2 separate regions of the Homo sapiens genome follow, and region 2 is linked to region 1. Evidence: promoter capture Hi-C in 16 types of primary human blood cells and fetal thymus (Javierre and others, 2016). All regions are on one chromosome and are shown on one strand. Each heading gives the region's core, a stretch centred on a gene start or on the middle of the fragment in contact. The rest is flanking DNA. Distances are from core to core; before and after follow the strand shown. Region 1 holds the start of PKD2L1 (polycystin 2 like 1, transient receptor potential cation channel). Region 2 overlaps HIF1AN (hypoxia inducible factor 1 subunit alpha inhibitor).

The links. Contacts are between HindIII fragments. The CHiCAGO score rates a contact against its expected background, and 5 or more counts as called.
Region 2: a fragment that was not itself captured here is called in contact with the fragment with the promoter of PKD2L1 in region 1 in 1 of 17 cell types (naive CD8 T cells); the score reaches 5.2 in naive CD8 T cells.

What each region holds. Positions count from the first base shown.
Region 1 is chr10:100,328,940-100,334,319 of GRCh38, reverse strand. PKD2L1 (polycystin 2 like 1, transient receptor potential cation channel) reads left to right here and starts at 4,092. Exons shown (of 16, transcript NM_016112.3): 1 at 4,092-4,451; 2 at 4,996-5,109. The coding sequence starts at 4,217. The HindIII fragment of the contact is 1,134 bases long and covers 3,378-4,511 here.
Region 2 is chr10:100,537,006-100,542,672 of GRCh38, reverse strand. It overlaps HIF1AN (hypoxia inducible factor 1 subunit alpha inhibitor), which reads right to left. Exons shown (of 8, transcript NM_017902.3): 3 at 1,891-2,039. Among named protein-coding and RNA genes, the nearest start is that of HIF1AN, 3.9 kb to the right of the region's middle. The HindIII fragment of the contact is 8,099 bases long and covers 1-5,667 here.

The DNA of each region.
Region 1 (5,380 bases), core at 2,843-5,342:
CTGTTCCCCCACCAGGGCAGTGTTGTATACTTCCAAAACTTTCTAGGTCTCCTCCAAATGACTCAAGGGATGGGAATTTCACCACCTCTCATGGGAGGTTGTTTTATAGCCTCTTACATCTTACCCATGATGAAAGTTCTGATGAAACATTTTTTTCCCCTTTGGTTCATTCATTACCCTTAGATAATCCCCTAAAGAGCACCTTCACAATCCCTCTCCTTCTTTGGGGCTTATGCCTTCAACTATCTGCACATGGCTGTCAGGACCCCATCCCACACACATGCATCTGCACATGGCTGTCAGGACCCCATCCCACACACATGCACCTGCACTCCTTAGCTCTTCAGCCAGGCCTACCCACATACAGTTCTTTTCATCTTTCCTCATACATCAAAACCTCAAGTGAATTGGAAGCGGGATTATGGCTCTCTTCTCAAGATTTTCTCACGTCAGCTGCATCCCTTCTCCTCAACCACATGCCAGGTTTGTGTATGCCAATAGCCATTCACCAATGGAAATGAGGTTTTTCTGGAATGCTGTGTTCTATAGTTAAAAAAAAAAAAGATTCCTCCTACCCATAGCTTATATCTAGGTTGGATCAATATTTATACAAACTATAATAAGGAGGAAAAATCTAAAAGAAGTCTGGGACTACCTTAAATCTCCAACCCCCCAAGAAACATTTAAACTACAAATAAAAATCTCAAAATAATATATTTCCCTTAAACATAGGCTATGAATTAATAAAATAAATTCAATCACCTTTTGGTAAAGGAAGCATGAAAAGATTGACTACTCATTTCTTTATGGATGAAAAATTAGCATGGATGAGTGCCCCAAATGAAAAAGAACCCTTCCTTTTCTTCTTATTTTGTCATTTCCTTCCCACTGACTTGGTCAGAAGCCACCTCCTTTTGTTCTTCAACCACTCTGAATAGCTGGTAGTTTCCATGGTCTCTGAAGGGATTCACGCACACCACAGTTCTCGGCGGCAATAGGGACCACCAGAGGTCCTCACCCTCGTTATGCAACCTCAGGCCTTCCCCCTCCTCTGTTTTCTCCCAACTGCACTAAGGGCCAGTCTTCTACAACCCTAGGGGCATCACAGACATCTTCAGAGCCCCAAGACCCCACCTATCATTCCTATGCTTAGAAGGAACCTCTTCTTTTCCAAACCTTCCCATCCAAACCTGATGGGGCTCTTCCTTCCCAAACCTCGCCCATCCATCAAGATCTAGCTTCTGTTTCATTTCCTCCAGAGGAAGCTTCCTTTTCCCCTAAACTTCATAATGTTTAGTGTCTATACCATTAAAATAGGCTACCTCACATTATTCATGCCTCCATTTGCTGCTGCTGCTTTTTTTTTTTTTTTTTTTTGAAACAAGCTCTTTCTCTGTCACCAAGGCTGGAGTGCAATGGCATGAACACGGCTCACTGCAGCCCTGACCTCCCGGGCTCAAGCAATCCTCCTGCCTCAGCCTCCTGTGTATTTGGGATCACAGACATGCATTACCATGCCCAGCTAATTTTTTGATTTTTTTGTAGAGACAGGGTCTCACTTTGTTGCCCAGGCTGGTCTTGAACTCCTAGTCTCAAGCTCGGCCTCCCAAAGTGCTGATGTTAGCCACTGTGCCTGGCCCATTTGCTCCATTTTTTAAAGTTTTATTTTATTTTTAATTGATAAATAATAATTCTATATACTTATGAGGTACAATGTGACATTTTGATACATGTATACATTGTGGAGTGATCAAATCAGGTGAATTAGCATATTCATTACTTCAAATATTTATCATTTCTTTGTAGTAAGAACTTTTTAAATCCTCTCTGTTAGCTATTTTGAAGTACACAGTACCTCATTATCAACTGTAGTCACCACACTGTGCAACAGAACAACAGAACATATTTCTCTTGCCTGATTGAAAGCTTTTATCCATCGACCACTCTCTTCCCCTCTCACACACCCCTCACCCCCAGCCTCTGGTAACCACCATTCTACTCTCTACTTCTACGAGTTCAATTTTTTTAGTTTCCACATATAAGTGAGAGCATAGGGCATCTGTCTCATTATGCCTGGCTTATTTCACTTAACATAATGTTCTCTAGGTTTATCTATGTTGTCGTAAATGACAGAATTTTCTGTGTTTTTTTTTTCAAGGCTGAATATATTATATTGTGCATATATACCACATCTTTTAAATCCTTTCGTCAGTTGATGGATACTTAGATTGTTTCCATATCTTGGCTATTATTAATAATCCTGCAATGAACATGGGAGAGGAGACATCTATTCAACACACTGATTTCAATTCCTTTGAGATTCTTGGAACATATGGTAATTCTATTTTTAGTTTTTTGAGGAACCTCCATACTGTTTTCCAAGATGTCCGTACTAATTTACAATACAGCCAAGCATACAAGGGGCCCCTTTTCTCCACAGCCTTGCCAACACTTGTTATCTTTCTTTCTTTCTTTTTTCTTGAGACAGGGTCTTGCTCTGTTGCTCAGGCTGGAGTGCAGTGGTGTGATTTCAGCTGACTGCAGCCTCAACGCCTCAGCCTCCCCAGCTCAAGTGGTTCTCCCACCCCAGCCACCTGAGTAGCAGCTGGGACTACATGCACGCACCCCATGCCTGGCTAATTTTTGTTGTTTTGTTGTTGTTTTGTAGAGGCGGTGTTTCACCATGTTGCCCGGGCTGGTCTTGAACTCCTGAGCTCAAGTGATCCTCCTGCCCTGGCCTCCCAAAGTGCTGGAATTACAGGTGTGGGCAACCACACCCAGCCAAGATCTCTTTATAGGGACACTCAAGACTGATTATTTTGACAAGGCTGATGTTTTGCTGAATGTGAAGGTGGGCTTCAGGCCAGTGAGTAGCCCTGGGTGGGGAGCCAGGAGTTAGGAGAGGAAAGTCTCTGCTCTAGCCTCAAGGAGGAGAAACTGCAGGGTGACCACCACAACCTGTGGGATCAGCCCCATTCTGGGGCATCATGCATGCCTATAGGGGAGCTGGAGCAGGTGATCAGAAGCTGGAGCAGGGCATAGGCAGGGATGTGCTTGGGGGCCCATGACACAGTTTTAATTCAGAGACCTGCAGTTATAAAGAAAGCAGATTAATCCTGATATCATGGATAGTTCCACTTTGTGCTCAAGTTTACGATTCTAGGCCCAGGACTAAGCAGAGCCATGGGAAAAGGTTCCCAGCTCAGCTGGGTCCAGATATCCACTCCCCTTTAGTCCCACATCATACTGTCCTTGTCCTTTGTTCTCCGATCCAGCCTCCCAACCAGGTCTTAGCCTTTTTCCCATACTGAGCCCCACACCCTTAAGGAACCCCCTCTCTTGGTGTATCTCACCTGTAAGCCATGGAAAGGCAAGCTTCAGAACAAGGAATATAGACAACCTAGGACTCTGTGGTCCTCTCCCCTGCCCCCTCAGTGCCCTGAAGTATGTGAGACTGGGGTTCCTCCTGCCACTGTCCTTTCCCCACGGCTGAGAGGGTGAAGTGAGGGAAGGGAGCTGCCCATCTCTGCTCCACCAGGGGACAGCTGAAGGTGAGACAGGACAGGAGCCTCAGACCCATTGACTGAACCTGGGAGGTGGGCAGAGCCTGGGAGGGGGACAGCGCTCTTCAGCTTTCCTCCCAGCCTTGGTCCCCACCCCAATCCATGTCGGCCCTTTTAGGAGCTTTTAGTGGAAATGAGCTCAGACCCGCAGCACAGGCCCCCGGCTCCCCTCCTGTCTCAGCTCCTCCCATTGCTCTTTGATCGTCTCTTCTGTCCGACCTCTGGGCCATCTCTCCACCAGGCACATCTGCGAGCAGCCCCCTTCATCCCCAGCATCGCCTTTTCCTCCCGTTTCTCCTTCCACTCCCAGCTCCACATCCTCCTCCTATTCTCCCCTCTCCCCTCTTCAAACCCCCACCTTCCAGTTCCCTCACCTCCCCTTTCGGCTGGTCCCCTGGGGCTTGCAGCAAGAGGGAGAGAGAGCTCCTGACAGGATTGATGGTCCTTCCCCACCCTGTCCTCTCATCCGCTCCCTCCCCAGCAGGCACAGACATCCCCCTACAAAAGGCAGGAGCCCAGGCTGTGTGGAAACAGCTGCTCTCAGACGCCTTTCCATTTGCTCTCTGCTGGCTAGGCTGGGCTGTGCCTCTGCTCCCTCTTCCTCTAGCTGAGAGTGGGCACCTGGGGTACCGGGCCCCCCCACCTCATTCCCCATGAATGCTGTGGGAAGTCCTGAGGGGCAGGAGCTGCAAAAGCTGGGGAGTGGAGCCTGGGACAACCCCGCCTACAGTGGTCCCCCTTCCCCACACGGGACGCTGAGAGTCTGCACCATCTCCAGCACGGGGCCTCTCCAGCCCCAACCCAAGAAGCCTGAAGATGAACCCCAGGAGACGGCATACAGGACCCAGGTGTCCAGCTGCTGCCTCCATATCTGTCAAGGCATCAGAGGTACCAGATAGGGGGACAGTTCTCCTGGGATATTAGAATCAGGAGGAGTCACCAAAAGCTTTTGGGCAGGGGGTGGGGGTGGAATGTGATCTGAAGAAGAGGTGACCTTTCGGTGTCACTTTGGGGTGTATGAATTGCCCATGGTAGTGCTGCATGACCCAGAACACAGAGGCCAGCTGAGCGGTCTACCGGTTGTGGGAGCCTGGCATGGTCATCACCTGGGGATCCAGAGAGGTATGTGGGAGCTGGTTTGAGGGAGGACATGGATGTGATGATGCCCTAGACTACCCCACCTGGAACAGGTGCCTCCTTTCCATGCCTTCATTCTCTACAAGCCAGGGCCTTCACCCCTGTCGACCTCAGGGAGCTGATGGGAAGAGCAAGCATGGGTGTGGGTACAGTAGCCAGATTCAGCCAAGGATGAAGGTGATGGGCAAGGAAGGGCAGGGGTGGAAAGGGGCTAAAGTCCAGAGACAGATGGGTGGGGATGACTGGGAGGAACACTGCCACTGAGCATCCCAGGCATCTCTCCCATGCCCCTTAGGACTTTGGGGAACAACCCTGACTGAGAACACAGCTGAGAACCGGGAACTTTATATCAAGACCACCCTGAGGGAGCTGTTGGTATATATTGTGTTCCTGGTGGACATCTGTCTACGTGAGTAGCATCTGTGTTTGTGTACATCTGTCTGTGAGAAACATCTATGTGTGCACTATATGTATAAACATTCCTGTGGGCAACATCTGTGGAGCGAGCATCTATCTGTGTAAGCAGGCTATATCCGGGAACTTTAGATAACAATATTCCAATCCCATCTATTTACCTTTGCAGCTTAAGATATTTTGTTTAAAAGGAATTTGTCAGTAGAGGAAGGCAGTTTGGTCAAGAATTACAAGGGGAAACCAGTTTTTGGCAGCCATTGTTTTCT
Region 2 (5,667 bases), core at 701-3,200, 210 kb before region 1:
AAAAGATAAAGTTGAATTTGCCAGGCGCGGTGGCTCACGCCTGTAATCCCAGCACTTTGGGAGGCCGGGGCAGGTGGATCATGAGGTCAGGATATCGAGACCATCCTGGCTAACACGGTGAAACCCCATCTCTACTAAAAGTACAAAAAAAATTAGCCAGGTGTGGTGGCGGGCGCCCGTAGTCCCAGCTACTTGGGAGGCTGAGGTGGGAGAATGGCGTGAACCTGGGAGGCGGAGCTTGTAGTGAGCCGAGATCGCGCCACTGCACTCCAGCCTGGGCGACAGAGCGAGACTCTGTCTCAAAAATAAATAAATAAATAAAAACAATAAAGTTGAATTTACACTAAAAAAATAAGTTTCTCCTCTTTCACAGGGACAAAAATTGTCTGAATATAGACAGATCTAGTAGAGAAAAGTGGTACAGTCATGTGCCACATGATGACATTTTAGTCGACAACAGATTGCATCTACGATAGTGCTCCCATAAGATTATGATGGAGCAGCCCTATACAGGTATACCGTTTTTTATCTTTTTTTTTTTTGGCAATAAAAAAATTCCCAAACTACCATTTTTTAACCTTTATATACTTTTTTCTTTTGTCACCTTTTTCCTGCAGTATCTGATACCGTACTTTTACTATACCTTTTCTATATTTAGGTATGTTTAGATACACAAATACTTACCATTGTGTTAGAATTGACTATAATATTCAGCACAGTAATATGCTAACACCATGTAGTACATGGTTTAGTCAGAGGCTACACCATATAGCCTAGGCATATAGAAGGCTACACAATCTAGGTTTGTGTAACTATACTCTATGGTGTTTGCACAATGATGAAGTCACCTAACAACACATTTCTCAGAACGTATCCCTGACATTAAGCATCACATGTCTGTATTTCAGAGAGGTCCCTAATATCTCAGTATACACACTCACATAACAGCTGAGGAAGGGAAAAGGGAACTTTTTAGAATACACGAAACTAGCTTAAAGACTCGACATAAGCCGGGTATGGTGGCACACGCCTGTAGTGTCAGCTACTTGGGAGCTAAAGCAGGAGAATCACTTGAACACGGGAGGCGGAGGTTGCAGTGAGCCGAGACCACACAACTGCACTCCAGCCTAGGCAACAGAGTGAGACTCTGTCTCAAAAAAACAAAACAACAACAACAAAAAAAAACAGACTCGACATACATTATTTCATTTAATCTTCACAACTTCACAACTATTTACAAGACATTATCATGTTTCATTTCTTTTCATTTTTCCTTTTTTAAGCAATAGGATCTCACTCTGTTGCCCAGGCTGCAGTGCAGTGGTGCAATCATAGTTCACTGTAGCCTCAAACTTCTGGCTTCAAGCAATCCTCCTGCCTTGGCCTCCCAAAGTGCTGGGATTACAAATATGAGCTACCATGCCTGGCCCTATTATGTTTCTTTTTCTTTCTTTTGAGACAGAGTCTTGCTCTGTCGCCAGGCTGGAGTGCAGTGGCGTGATCTTGGCTCACTGCAACCTCCACCGCCTGGGTTCAAGCAATTCCCCTCTCTCAGCCTCCCGAGTAGCTGGGACTACAGGCACGCACCACCATGCCCAGCTGATTTGTTTTCTTTGTATTTTAGTAGAGACGGGGTTTCATGATGTTGGCCGGGATGGTCTCCATCTCCTGACCTCATCATCCACCCACCTTGGCCTCCCAAACTGCTGGGATTACAGGCGTGAGCCACGGCATCCAGCCCCTATTATGTTTCTTTTAGAGCTGAGTAGGCTGAGGCTTAAGAAAGTGAAGTGGCTTGTTCAAAGTCATGGAGCTAATAAGCGGTGAAGACAGGATTAGAAATCAGGTTCATATGACTCCAAGCCATGCTGCTTTTGAAAGATTTCTTACCTTCCATGCCAATGAGCAGCAGGTTAGAGGTAAGCTGCCCCCAGCCACGCTTTCCCTGTTGCTTATTAATCCAGTTCCAGTTAAAACCTAAGAAGTCCATGACAATCTTCCTGCCCACAGTGTCATTGAGCGTTTGCTGCAGATACAACCTATGTTCCCCAAGAAGAAAATCCTATTAGTGCATGCACACACAGCCCCTGGCATGGCCTCTCCACATCTGAAAATCCAAGCCCAAATCCATACCAGCATCTCCCACAGAGAACAGATGTAGTCAGGCAAATTTTAGCCAACATGGATTCTCATACAACTGAATTCTTACTTATCCTTCATTGAGTTATGTTCAACACCAAATTTTTTAATTTACTGGTTTTTCTTTGTTTTGTTTAAAGAAACAAGGTCTCAATATGTTGTCCAGGTTGGTCTTAAACTCTTGGGCTCAAGCAATCCTCCTGCTTCTGCCTCCCAAAGTGCTGGGATTACAGGTGTGAGACACTGCATCTGGCCCCCAAACTTTTTCTTTAAAGAAGTGATGCTTAACCTTTTTTGGGTCACAGAATGACTCCTTTAAGAATCCAAAGAGTAGGAGGGTGAGATGAAAAATAAAATTAAAAAAAAAAAAAAGAACCTGGAGAAGAAGTCCCAGCTACTCAGGAGGCTGAGGCAGGAGAATCACTTGAACCTGGGAGGCAGAGGTTGCAGTGAGCTGAGATCGTGCCATTGCACTCCAGCCTGGGTGACAAGAGCAAGACACCATCTCAAAAAATATAAATACATAAATAAATAAATAAAAGAATCCACGGAGGTTCCCCATAAAAATGCACATACACCCAGAACTTTCACACAATTTCAGACTCCTAGAAGCCTATCCACAGACCCTAGAATGATGAATCAGTCTCACTCCAGAGACTCGCAGAGCCTGAGACATCTCCGTTGGCCCTTGATGACCACTGTGGTAAATTGTATTACTGTTCACCAAGAGCTGGTTCCCTCAGTGTGCGAGTTTTCTTTCACATCCCCTTGAAGCCAGGCTTGCTTATTTACGCTGCTCTGGCCAAGGAAATGTCCACAGAAGCGACTTGTGTTGTTTCCAACTGTAATTTAAGAACAAGTTACCACTACCACATCTCTTTCCTTCTGCCACAGCAACTCCAAAGTTCTAGATAGTAGCTGCTGGGGCAATCTGGGTGCCAGAGCAAGTAAGATGATGTAAAGAACAATATGACATTACCCATGATCAACATGTAGTAAGTGAGAAATAAGCCTCTGTTGTTTCTAGCCCGAGCTCTGGCTTGAAGCCTAGTTTATCTTAACTGATTCAGCCACCTATCCTGTTGCAGCCTTCTACAGCTAAAGTAAGGAAGATAGCTTATTAGGTAAAGGCCTCAGGCTCCTAACATACCTGAGGAAGGTCATAAGTTACTTAAGAGATATGAAAACCCAGACACACTTGAACAAGCCCACAAGAGACATTTAATAAGTGTGCAAACCTAAAAAAAAGACAGAAGCATCTCTGTCCTGGTCCTGAGATCATTATTTCAAAAGGCTCAAAGAGGCCAGGTGCGGTGTCTCACGCCTGTAATCCCAGCACTTGGAGAGGCCAAGGGAGGTGGATTGCCTAAGCTCAGGAGTTCGAGACCAGCCTGGGCAACATGGCAAAACCTTATGTATTTAAATAAATAAATTGGTTATTAAAAATACACAAAATTAGCTGGGCATGGTGGTGGCAGCACATGCCTGTGGTCCCTGCTACTTGACAGGCTGACGTGGGAGGATCGCTTGAGCCTGGGAGGTGAAGGTTGCAGTAAGCTGAGATCATGCCACTGCACTCCAGCCTGGGTGACAGAGCAAGACCCTGTCTCAAAAAAAAAAAAAAAAAAGAAAGGTTCAAAGGCATCTCATCTCACTGCCTAGAATCACAATGTTTAAGGCAATGTTAATCAGAAATCTTTTTTTTTTTTTTTTTTGAGACGGAGTCTCACTGTCACCCAGGCTGGAGTGCAGTGGCGCAATCTTGGCTCACTGCAACCTCTGCCTCCTGAGTTCAAGCAATTCTCCTGCCTCAGTCTCCCAAGTAGCTGAGACTACAGGCACGTGCCACCATGCCCAGCTAATTTTTGTATTTTTAGTAGAGACGGGGTTTCACCACGTTAGCCACGCTGGTCTCGAACTCCTGACCTCAGGTGATCTGCCTCCCGAAGTGCTGAGATTACAGGTGTGAGCTACCATGCCCAGCCTTAATAGGAAATCTTGATGAGTTGGAAACACTACCTTTGTAGGAACATGAAATCCTCAAGACTCAATGCAACGCTCCCCAAAGATAATAATTATATATTCACCCAAAAAATATGCAAGTAACTTTGAAAGAGTCAGTGATACTGCCCATATATGAATCTAAACAATATTATGATTACACCAGAATGGTTAATGCTCAAAATAGCTCAGAGGATCCTAATACATTTCACCCCATAGTCGCCACAACCTGTCCAATCAGGTTGAAGTGAAGCTGACTGGTGAAGCTGCTCGGTGCTAAAGTCAGCTGATAGGGTAAAACTTCCAAACAATTAAAGATTTTCCTTGAAAACTCTTTAATCACCCATAAAGTACAGATTACACTCATTCTTATGCAAAATGCTCTCACTATGGGACACAAGAAACTTCAAGCGACTGAAGAACCACAAGATTCACATATCTTATGCTTATTCTTGGGTATATGTTCATTCAATGGAATTACACACTCCAACAGCATCATTTAAATCAATCTTTCTCTCAATGTTGGGTGTGTGTATATGGAAGTGTGCACACACACACTGTGTTAAATTTTAGAAAATTAATGCATGAGATAACTGAACCAATATATTAAGACATCATGGACAGATCGACCACAGTTCATATCTTGGAAACTCTTCTGGTCAAAAATCCCATCATTATGACAACTGCTAAGTGTTAAGAAGAAGAAAAAAAGATATTTCAAATCCATTCACTTAGCCACAGACTGCTGATAAGGAGTCAGGAACAGGAGTGAGTGAAGCAAGAGACTAGAGAGAAACCCAGGGTTGGACACCAAATGCGAGAGGGTAATTCACCGTGAAGTACTGAGCGAAAGCAATTCCCCAGAGGCAGTGTTATAGTGTGGGACTGAATACTGTCTCGGACCTACATAAGAGGCTGTCCTCATAAGCAGGAATAAAAGCAGAGAGGAAGAATCACTGTCTTGTGTGTCTTGTGTTGCTGTTGTGATAGGAAAAACAAATTTAATCTGATCTTCCCTAAGCTAGAGAATCCTAACCTTCTTTACTGCAGAATCACAACAAACTATACAACTTTTCAGGTTGAACTATCCTCAGTCATCACAATACTTAAGGACAATGGCTACAAACAGGCATTTTCAGAGCTAAATCCAGTGACAAACATTTTTGTTTGGCCCCCTGCAACTTTTTTTCTTTAAATCTGATTTAGTTGCTCCATTTAAAGTCAAAAGATTTTAAATAAAAATCCTGATTTTGAACTTCTCTTGAAAATCGGAATATCTCCCAACCCTAGAACTGCACTCCAAAACTGAAGCAAGCAGAGTCAAGTAATGACCTCTCACCATGGTTTTTTGTTTTAGTTTTTAATTTTGCAGAGACTAGCTCTCACCACGTTTCCCAGGCTGGTCTTGAACTCCTGGACTCAAGCAATCCTCCCACCTCGGCCTCCCAAAGTGCTGGGATTACAGGCATGAGCCACCCCCGCCGGCCTTGGCTTCTCACTTTGAACAAGGCTTATGCCTTCAGCCTC